3 separate regions of the Homo sapiens genome follow, and all the other regions are linked to region 1. Evidence: promoter capture Hi-C in 16 types of primary human blood cells and fetal thymus (Javierre and others, 2016). All regions are on one chromosome and are shown on one strand. The core of a region is centred on a gene start or on the middle of the fragment in contact, and the rest is flanking DNA. Distances in the headings are between cores, read along the strand shown. Region 1 holds the start of UXS1 (UDP-glucuronate decarboxylase 1). Region 2 has its middle 49 kb from the start of CD8B2. Region 3 overlaps NCK2 (NCK adaptor protein 2).

Region 1 (3,579 bases), core at 700-3,199:
AGACCATCCTGGCTAACATGGTGAAACCCCGTCTCTACTAAAAATACAAAAAATTAGCCGGGCGTGGTGGCGGGTGCCTGTAGTCCCAGTTACTTGGGAGGCTGAGGCAGGAGAATGGCGTGAACCCGGGAGGTGGAGCGTGCAGTGAGCCGAGATCGCGCCCCTGCACTCCAGCCTGGGCTGAACAGAGCGAGACTCCGTCTCAAAAAAAAAAAAAAAACTTCCCATGGCTCCATAAATCCCCTACTTTATTAATTCTAAACCCTTGCAGCGACTATAGAATACCCCCAAAATAAACATTGAAACTGCTGTTCGAAGACCTGGGTTCTAGCTCCTGCTCCCAGGCCTTTCTGGGTTCAAATTTTGGCCCTCCTTCTCTTACTATCTGTGTGATCATCCATAAATTTCCTAATCTCTCTTGGCCTTAACTTCCTCACCTCTAAAATAGGAATCATTATAGTACCGATTTCCCAGGGTTGCTCAATGATTGAGACAATGGCACTAAGAATCATGACTCACACAGTTAAGCACTCAACAAATGTAGGTAGTATTACTGCCATAATAATAGTTATTCAACTTTAAATGGTCTTTCCTCTTGGGTCTCAGCTTTCTTACTCAAGATTGACCACACACACACTTTAGACTAGTTCTTCCTCCCTTGCAAAACTACACACATCTAACACCCATCCGACGCCTGAAACCTCCCCTAGCAACCCGGAGTCCTGCTGGGGTTTTCCAGCTCCACCTCCTGAACAGCTGGGCTGTAGCACACAGGCTGGATCTACTCATACTTGCCTTCCTAGAGCTCAACTGAAGTCACTTCAGACAAGTGAAGTACCCACTCACCTCTGGAATCAGATCTTGGTAACGCCAACAGGTTAGCAGGTGATTTCATTTCAGTGTGTGTCTGGGTGGCTAGCATTCAAACGCAGCTCACACTGGGAGCTATTTCTAGTCCAATTTTGCTACTTGGTAACGTATTAATAGCATCAATTAAAACATTCCCAACGAATAGATCTTTAAAAGGACGGTTTCTGACTTCCCTAACAAGCAGAGGGCCGACCACCTGCCTGCGAAGTGCCCCTCCTGCCCTGTCTCCAGGCAGCATGCTGTGAGCGATGACAGAAACTGGACCCGCGCACAGAGAAGCTGCAGGCACGCCCTGCCCGGCCACCCAGCTGCCTGCCTGCTTCGCCCGGCCGCCGAGCCCCGGGGGAAAACCTAGAATGGGGATGCCGGTGCGCCCCGACACCTGGGCACGGCCGCGGGCCGGGGAGCCGCCCACACTTGGCTCCCCAAGAGTTAAACGCTGAGTAATTTTCCTGAGGAGCAAACAGTCGGAGCGGGGGCTCTGCCAATGGCCACAGTATTTTTATCCGACTTAACCGACACCGCGGCGCGACCTCGGCTGTCCCCAAGGGTATCCCCACGCGGCACGCTCCGGAGTCCCCGACCGGGACCCTCGCCGGCTCCCAGCGCGACATGGACGACAGCGCCGCCGCCGAGTCCCCCGCGCCCGGGCAGGAGGCAGAGACCTGGGGCCGCCCGAGGACTGCTAGGGGCCCCTCCGCCCGGGGTCCGCGCCCGGGCCTAAGCGGTAGGGGGTGTGCGCCCAAGTTGGCCCGCTTTGCTGCAAGAGTGGAAAGGGGTGGGAGCAGAAAGCGCCGGCCCCGCCCGGGGCGGGGAGCAACGCGGGGCTGCAGGGCCGCCTCGGGGCCCCGAACCACCGCCGCCCGGCCCACCGCGGCGCCGGGGAATGAATGGGGCTCCCCAGCTGGCAGCGGGCGCGCACTCACAGGCGACGTAGGCCAGCAAGGCGATGCCCAGCAGCAGCTTCATCCTCCTGCGGTTGACGGCAGACACGAGGCGCAGCAGCGCCTTGCTCACCATCCCCGGGAGCCGCGCGGGTCCAGGGCCCTACCGCGCGGGGGCCCGCCTGCTGCACAATGCGCGGCGGCGGCGGCGGCAGCGGCCCCGAGAGCCCCGCCTCCTGCCGCCGCGCGCCCCCGCCCCCGCGCGCCTGCTTCCTGCTGGCGGGATCACCGCGCAGGCGCGCCTCCACCCCCTTCCTCCGGCTCCGCCCCCGCCCCTCCGGCTTCTCTACCCGCAGGCGCAGTTGCCGCCTTTCTTGCCTTGGTTTTCGAAGAATGTGACCTGGAGGGCTGGTGGGCGGTGCGGCGCGCCGCGGCGCATGCGCGTTCCGGTCTGTTTTCCCTGAGTTAAAGCGCGCGGGTGCCAGCCGGGAGGTGCGGCTGGATTCGTTTCGCTGAGGTGCGTCCCCAACCCAAGGGCACGACTGCAGTGGCCAGTTTCCGAGCCCCGCCCGGAGGGGGGCACGCGGTGGGCATTCCGGTGTTGCAGTGAAACGAAACTTATTTGCTAAACTTGGCCGAGCCTTAGAAGTTGAATGCCTGCCTCAGAAAGTTGCCTCGTTCTCTGGGCTGTTTAGTTGGCTTTTTTTAGTTAGAATATCGGCAGCGAAAATGATAAATCCCCTAAACCTTGCCGAAGTAAAAACTGGCTGCGTTTTTTTTCCTTGGCTATGATCAACTGGGGTGCCTTTGTTTTAATAATAGTCTTTTATTATTATTTTAAAAAGCAGTGCTAAGTATATTAATTTAGGATAGACTTGGAAAAGAAAAGATGAAATTGCGCTGTCTCTGCCTAGAGAAAAACCCTGACCATGTTGTCGTGTGTGTTTCATTCAATCTTTTTGTTGAGTATATCTGTTTTATGAGTGCTGTACTGATTGCATAGGAGGTACCTGTGTTTAAAAAGCATTTACTGAATGATGATTACAAGCAAGGAGATGTATCAGAAGATCCACAGATAATCGGAAGCTTGTCATTGGATCTGGAGAGAGCTGGTCCCATGGAGGAAAAAAAGACAGGTACACACAGATGTGTGTGATGCCACATTAAGAGAGATCCCGGATTTGGGATCTGCAGGCTTCAAGAGGTCATCTTCAGCTATACGGAGAAGTTGAAGTCAGCAGCGGCTCTCCTACCTCTTGGAACCTCAGGCCATTTTGCAAAACTTAATAGATCACCCTCCTTTAGATTTATTAGAAACCTCCAAGAAAAGGAAATATGGCAGCTGGTACTAAAGCAGCAGCTTTATGTTACATCTTTCAAACTATAGTGCAAATGATGTGATTCTGATAAAACCTACCTCCATCCTACCCCTCCCCTAAACCTGTTGAGAATCCCTGACTAGGAGGAAACACTGAGCGGTTTGCTAAGGCGGATTGCCCCTGCTATGCATGCTGCCCATAGATGGAGTGGACTTCTTTCGAGAAGCCCAGCTCCCTGACTCTGACGTGTCCAAGGAGGCTGCCAAGTGACAAAACACCTGGCATGGGAGCCTGAGTCCTGGGTTCCCAGAGGGGCCAGGCCCCCAGAGCACACCAGTTTGGAACAAATCGATTTTGTTTGTAAGTCTGCATTTCCTCGTGGCTTTCTGGCTATGGTTTTTGAAAAGAGAACTAGAGCAAGTGGAGCTCTAGGCCTTTCCCATTCCATGACTCCGTGGTTTTTAGATTAAAGATGAGGAGCAGAAATGGAAGAAAATAATAGTTCA
Region 2 (3,579 bases), core at 608-3,107, 340 kb after region 1:
GGGTCTAGTGTTTCAACATTATAAAAGCTCCCTGGGGAGGTAGGAGCTACAGTTCAAAACACTGGAAGAGAATATATATTTTTAAAATTGAGAAACATTTTTGAGACCTAATGTTTGTTTGTTTGAAACAGAGTCTTGCTTTTTTGCCCAGACTGGAGTGCAGTTGTGAGATCTTGGCTCACTGCAACCTCCTCCGCCTTCTGGGTTCAAGCGATTCTCTTGCCTCAGCCTCCTGAGTAGCTGGGATTACAGGCATGTGCCACCTTGCCCGGCTAATTTTTGTATTTTTAGTAGAGATGCAGTTTCACCATGTTGGCCAGGCTGGTCTCAAATTCCTGACCCCAAGTGATCCACCTGCCTCAGCCTCCCAAAGTGCTGGGATTACAGGTATGAGCCACCATACCCGGCCAAGACCTAATGTTTTGCATATAATGTCCCAACGGTACCTTTTGGAAAAATCCATGGCTTCCTCCCTCTCTTCCTCTCCATGTGTGTTACTCACAGTCCCAGATGTTTCTCTAGGGACAGTCGTTTGGGGGCATGTCAGACACTGCAACAAGAGCACACTTAAGATCTAAATTTCCAGGCTGCAGACACTCATTTCCAGGCCAATGCCACATAGACCAAGGTTGTTTGCTGAGGTCCAGGGCTGCCATCACCTGAGAGAAAACATCAATATTAAAAACATAGAGTTAAGGCTAAACAGAAATAGTCTACTATGCAAAGAAGGTCCTTGTGTAGGAAATTGAAGGTGTTTGCCCATGTGATGGATGAGGCTCCTACCAGCTTTTACATACTTTTTAATCAGAACAGTAAGGCAAGTTTATAAAATAGAGAAAACATCACCCGTAATTCCATCACCGTAATACAATTTTAAAAATTCTTGTGTGTTCCTTTGTTCCCACGCTTGGGTATACATCTTACCCAGTTGCATAAAGCCCTTCTACTTTTCTCTACTCAACAGGGGAGCTGGACATTTTTCCATGTTGTTATTTGCTAGTTGTCATTCTGTAAATCCCAGCTCTAACATTCTAAAGCTTGTAAGAGATTTTATTCACCAGATTCCAGCTAATGGTTTATATATTAGTCCATTCTTGCACTGCTATAAATACCTGAGGCTGGGCAACTTATTAAAAAGAAAAAAGAGGGTTAATGGGCTGACAGTTCTGCAGGCTGTGCAGGAAGCATAGAGGCTTCTGCTCTGCTCCTGGGGAGACCTGAGGAAGTTTTCAATAATGGTGGAAGGCACGCAGGGGAGGCAGGTATGTCTTACATGGCCAGAGTAGCAAGAGAGAGAAGAGGCAGGTGCCACACACACTTTTTTTTTTTTTTTTTTTTTGAGACAGAGTTTTGCTCTTGCTGCCCAGGCTGGAGTGCAAGGGTGCAATCTCAGCTCATCACAACCTCTGCCTCCAGGGTTCAAGCGATTCTCCTGCCTCAGCCTCCTGAGTAGCTGGGATTACAGGCAAGTGCCACTGTGCCTGGCTAATTTTGTATTTTTAGTAGACAGGGTTTCTCCATGTTGGTCAGGCTGGTCTCGAACTCCTGACTTCAGGTGATCCGCCTGCCTTGGCCTCCCAAAGTGCTGGGATTACAGCCATGAACCACTGCGCCTGGCCACCACACACTTTTAAACAACTAGATCTCCTGAGAACTCTGCTACAAGAACAGCAGCAAAGGGAGAAATCCACCCTCAAAATCCAATCACCTCCCACCAGGCCCTGCCTCCAACTTTGGGGATTAAATTTGACATGACATTTGGGCAGGGACACAGACCCAAACCATTTCAGCTTAGATATAGGTTGGTGGGAGAGGTTTCCCAAAACTTACTCCTAATGGACTTTAGATTCTTACTGTGACATGACTTTGCTGTATCAAGTATATTCAGCTTTGCTGTAGAGAACAATGAATAGATGAAAAGGGTGAAACTGAGAAGCATATTAAGCACAGAGGGTAGGCGAGCTGCCAGCTCATGAGGTGCAGGTGCATCTCAAAGGGTGTGTTACGGTAAGGAAATGAGTGAGAAGTGGCTTGTGAAGTAAGGGCAGATTCATCAATGTGTTCAATGGTGAGTTAATTATGGGTGTGATGTGTTGAAGACAGAAGTCTTACATGGAATATATGATGGCGCAAATAGTGTTACTGATCATGCCCTCACTGGACTGACAGCTCTGTTACCCCTGCATCAGCCCAGAGCATGCCAATCAAACTGTGGCTGTCCAGCAGGCTAACTGGCGACCTGCAGCTATAGCCAGTGCAGTACGTCTCTCAGAAGAACAAGTTGCTGTGTTTCTCCAATAGGACACATCTGTGCTGTTGGCTCTAGGTGCCCTTTGTCTGTGAGGCCCTGATCCAACTCCAAATCTGGTCTTCGTCACCACCCCATCAGCAGGGAAAACCGATGTGGGAGAGGAAGACAGGACATGTGAATATGGTGCTAACCAGGCCTCATGCTCTGGGCTTCCCCCCAAATGCTGCCCTGCTATTAACCTGCCCCGTCTCTCACCCCTCACTTCCCTATGTGTGTTTTAAACACATTTAATAAACCATGGGCTCATCACAAGGTCATCAGATGATGTCATACCCTGGAGACAACTTTCATTTCCCTAAACTTGCACTTCCCTAGTAGTCCTAGTGAAGCTCTTCAGTTTCAGAGTTTACATTTCCTTGTATGACCACAAGCTTGAACTTCCACTGAGGAGGCAGAAAATTATGGTTCAACGCCACCAAGACACGACATCTTAAAAACAGCTTATCTTACTTAATTTTAAGTACAGTATGCACAGAAATCCCCAAATGAGGTTAAGAGAGGTGTGTGGCACACTTGCACAGATTTCTCATTTGAATCCACATATGCTTAAAATCTCTTTTTACTTGGTGTAGAGCTTGGTTCTATAAGTGCCCTTCAGCTCTCTAAACACCAGATTGTAGCTCCTTGTGGAATGCCCGAGGAAGCGACAAGGAATGAAAAGAAGAGCATGGCTGTTCTTACTGAAGTGGCGGTCGATTTCTAAAAGCCCTTGCAGAGGATTTCTGTTGTTGCCACCTCTAATTAGTACTGCTGGGATTAAACTTAATAGGTTCTGAAGATAAAGTTAGCACGAAGGAAAAACAAACACACTGACAAAGCACATTCAGAATCAGCCGTGGGACAGCCGTCACGCCTGCTTGTTGCTAAGCTAGCTTCAGGCACCTCGCTTTGGAAATTAGCAGGGTAATGAATGTAAAATAAATGAGAAGTCTCTGTGAGGCTCCTTTTCTGACCTGCGCTGAGAGCTGGTGGATGCATGGCCCCAGAGGAGTCTCAAATGCTCAGTGATTGCGGAGGCCTGCGGACCTTCAGTGCTCAAAGTGTTTGCACGCATCTGGGTGTGCCCAGACAAAGCTGCTGGTCTAGGGAAGCGTAAGTCATCAGCTTGACTACCAAAGACCTTGCAAGCTTCCTCATGGTGGCACAAAACTAGCCAATATGACTCAATTCCCAAATAACACTTGCCAGTGATTTGAGAAACGGGAAAATACGGTATAGGCAGGGTGGTCAACTCAGGGGCTGAGGAAGGTTTAGGCTGTGAAGGGGAA
Region 3 (3,579 bases), core at 715-3,214, 330 kb before region 1:
TTTTCTCTTTTTTTTTTTTTTTTTTTGAGACGGTGTCTTGCTCTGTCACCTAGGCTGGAGTGCAGTGGCACAATCTCGGCTCACTGCAACCTCCACCTCCCAGGTTCAAGCGATTCTCCTGCTTCAGCCTCCCTAGTAGCTGGGACTACAGGTGTGTATCACCACACCCAGCTAATTTTTGTATTTTTAGTACAGATGGGGTTTTACCATGTTGGCCAGGCTGGTCTCGAACTCCTGACCTCAAATAATCCACCTCCCTCAGCCTCCCAAAGTCCTGGGATTATAGGCATGAGCCACCGCACCCGGCCAGTTTCTCTCATTTTAAAGCACACCAAGTCTTACCACAAGAATCATGCTCAGCAATTTATCTTAAGATCAGACTGGCCTGGAATTCTTTCCTCCCTCCCTCCCTCCCTCCCTCCCTCCCTCCTGCCCGCTCCCCCCTTCCCTTTCTTCCACCTGCATAATGGCTACAAGAAGTAGCAGGTGGGGATCAGGGTAACTGGCTGTAAACTGCAACCAGGGAAGGCAGCCCTGCCCCGGGTAACTAAAGGCCCTTTAGTTAGGGTTAGCCTGCATAAATACATGTAATGAGAGCAGCAACAGCTTGCAATTTATACAGCACTTTGCAATTTACCAGGCGGCTTAACACTTACAGGCATTTTTTTATATCAGTGGTAAAGACTCTAGAATTATGTCTAGGAAGAATTAGAGGGCTTCAGACTAGTGGGAAGGGGGTCGGTCTTGAGCCTGTGCTTCATACTAAGCATGCTGATTTTACTTAGATCAAAAGACCCAGGTTAGTCGAGTAGTCAAGCAAGATTTTAGTTACATGGTACATAAATTTATGAAAATGTCCAGTTCATATGAAAATATGTAATAGCACCCCAGGCCAGCCTCAGTAGTGTTACTAATCACAGATGAAAAAATGAAGCCTGAGAACACAGCAGTCACAGGTACGAGACCCAGAGGGGACTTCAGATCTAATCTGAATTATTTTTCCTCTACCAAATTGACTATCTGGATTTAGTGGTAGGCCGCTTTGTACGTTTGGGGGGACTCTGTCCCAGAGTCAGAATTATACCAAGTTCTTTGTTTTAGAAATGAGAAACCTCGGGAGTAACTAGCAAGCCTTGAAGGGGTTCAAGGGTGAGGTGATAGTCATGTATTGATATAAATTTACTGATTTTGATGAATGCCCTTATTTGTGGAAATACACATAAAGTATTCGGGTAATGGAACATCGTCTTGGCAGCTTAGTCTCAAATGGCTTGGGGAAAATAATGTTTTTTGCGCCGTTTTTGTAATTTTCCTGTGCACTAAAAGAAGCAGACATATCAGCAGTGGTTTAGAGACTACCCTAGGCCGTAAAGGTAGCTGGGAGTCTGGAGACTTGGGCTCCCCTGCTGTGCCTGGGCAGTGCCCTAAGTTTGGCATAAGCCTTTAAGAGGCCAGAAAGAATCATCGAGTATCTGCTGCAGTTGGACTTAGAACATGAGAATAATACCAGATGTCAACGTGCCCAGCTGATGCTTCACAGAATGGTTCTAACAGTACATGATTCAGAACTTTCTCTAATTATTCATCATATCTATATCCCCAGCATGCAAGTGAAAACCATCTCTGCTTCTTGCTGGGTCACCCCAGGCTGTTTTGAGCTCCTGGGCTCACAGCCTCTGTGATTGCTGGGAAATCGGAAATTCTCATTTCGGCATTATAGGATTGTGGGTCTGTCATCGTGATTATAAATATTCTCACAGGTCTCAACAAGGGCAGAGCTGTTCATCTCTGAAATGAAATGTGGGTAACAAATGCAGCAGCCTGGTTCTCGTGGAAGCCGAGTCTAAGCTTCAGTTGTCCCTTTCTCTATCCCTTGGAAATCCCGTCTGAGCCACTGCATTCTCTGCTGTGAGTGACCTTTGAGAACAGTAACCAAAGGCTTTGAAACAGGGATGCAGACACGATGCAGCAACCCCAACAGTGTAATAGGGTGTGTTCCGATCAGAAGGGGGAGCCTGGTCAGATGTTATTTCATCTGGTCGGGATGTGAAGGAAGGATAAGGCTTAGTCCCTGACTTTCTGAAGCTTGTATTTGTAATATAATCGGGAAAATAATACTGGCACAAGATGGACAGTCCTCATTCAAACAATAGCACTGTCCCTTCCTGTCCAATGGGAAACTAGGGCTGAGTTATGCAGCTCGGGCACCTGTGCTTTCAGAGAGCATGTAGCATTGTGGGCAGGAGGGAGGACTCTGGAGTCTTCGATCACCTGCATTCAAATCCAGGCTTTGCCACCTACTGCTCTTAATCATTGAGTGACTTTGAACAAGCCGCTGAAGCTTCTGAGCCTCAGTTGCGTCGTCTGTATAACGGGATACGTGACTGCTTGTCTCATAAAGTTTTTGAGAACTGAAGGAAGTCATTCATGTGAAGAATACTCTGAGCTGGGTTGAGACTTGGCGAGGGGGGGTGGGGTCTCACTTGAGGGATGCAGAGTGCAAGTGAGGATGTGAAGACGGAAACCCATAGGTGTGGGGAAGGCCATCGGCGAGCCAGCCGGACTGGGGTGAGCAAGAGGGCTGGGGCAGCCTCTGGGGTGGGGCATGCCACACCGTAAAGGCCCTGGGTGTGAAAAAAGAACCCTCGGAGGTTTCCACAGGGCTTAAGGGGGAGATGAGTGCTGGGGTGTCCGGCAGGGGTCCTGATCCTTGTCTTCAGGACACGACTGGAAGGGCCTGAGCCTGGCAGTGGGAGGTGGGGGACGGGGCCTGAGAGTGACCCAGGGTGACATCCCAAGCCCTGAGCTCAGCTGTGGGGATGGAGGACAAAAGAGAAAAGGAAGATTTTGAAGGAAAACCCCTAGGACTCTGTTGACTGGATGGGGAACACCTCGGAGAAGTATTAGAATGACTCAAGAGTTTCCAGCCTGAAGGACCAACAGTGACCCAGAGAGTGGGGGAAGTAAGAGGAGACTGAGCCACGGTGCGTAGTGGAGTTTGAGGTTAGGGTGGGACGTCAGTAGGATGCAGAGAAGGCTGCAGGTGTGAATCTCAGGCTTGGGAGGTACACAGTTATCCTTATGACATACTTCTTTATGTCAGTGAATTTTCATTTTCAGATGTGTAAAGATAATGTAATCCAGGGCCTACCTCGGAGAGCTGGCACTTCTGAGGCAGCTGATTAGGTACCTCAGCCAGGCATTCAATTTCTCTCATGTTAAAGACTGGACCTGGCCTTCTCTTCTTTGTCCCTTTCACACATGAGTTTGGCCCTCCGAACCCACGGGAAAGATCTGTAACCTCTAGCTCACATGTGCATGTACACACACACACACACACACACACACACACACACACACACACACACGGTTCCCTGCAAATGGATGACTTTAGATGCAGTTAACACCATCCAAATAATACTAGAAAGAATAACACTGGAATAACACCATCCAAATAACACGAGTACCTTCAACTAAAAAGCGGTCACCAGAGCCCTCCCCAGCAGGAGGCCTCTTGGTAGCTGGTGTCAGGGCCGCAGGCTCCCTCAGCCAGCATCAGTGCTCCCTGACCTCCCTGCT

What was found. The method cuts DNA at HindIII sites, captures the fragments that hold promoters and counts their contacts. A CHiCAGO score of 5 or more calls a contact.
Region 2: a fragment that was not itself captured here is called in contact with the fragment with the promoter of UXS1 in region 1 in 6 of 17 cell types (monocytes, M2 macrophages, M1 macrophages and 3 more); the score reaches 29.7 in monocytes.
Region 3: a fragment that was not itself captured here is called in contact with the fragment with the promoter of UXS1 in region 1 in 1 of 17 cell types (naive CD8 T cells); the score reaches 6.1 in naive CD8 T cells.

What each region holds. Positions count from the first base shown.
Region 1 is chr2:106,192,352-106,195,930 of GRCh38, forward strand. UXS1 (UDP-glucuronate decarboxylase 1) reads right to left here and starts at 1,950. Exons shown (of 15, transcript NM_001253875.2): 1 at 1,797-1,950. The coding sequence starts at 1,890. RefSeq lists an enhancer at 1,043-1,092 and a silencer at 1,423-2,032. The HindIII fragment of the contact is 11,333 bases long and covers 1-2,838 here.
Region 2 is chr2:106,534,713-106,538,291 of GRCh38, forward strand. It overlaps a transcript of CD8B2 not described here. Among named protein-coding and RNA genes, the nearest start is that of CD8B2, 49 kb to the left of the region's middle. The HindIII fragment of the contact is 1,645 bases long and covers 1,036-2,680 here.
Region 3 is chr2:105,861,507-105,865,085 of GRCh38, forward strand. All of the region lies in intron 3 of NCK2 (NCK adaptor protein 2), which reads left to right. Among named protein-coding and RNA genes, the nearest start is that of NCK2, 120 kb to the left of the region's middle. The HindIII fragment of the contact is 237 bases long and covers 1,847-2,083 here.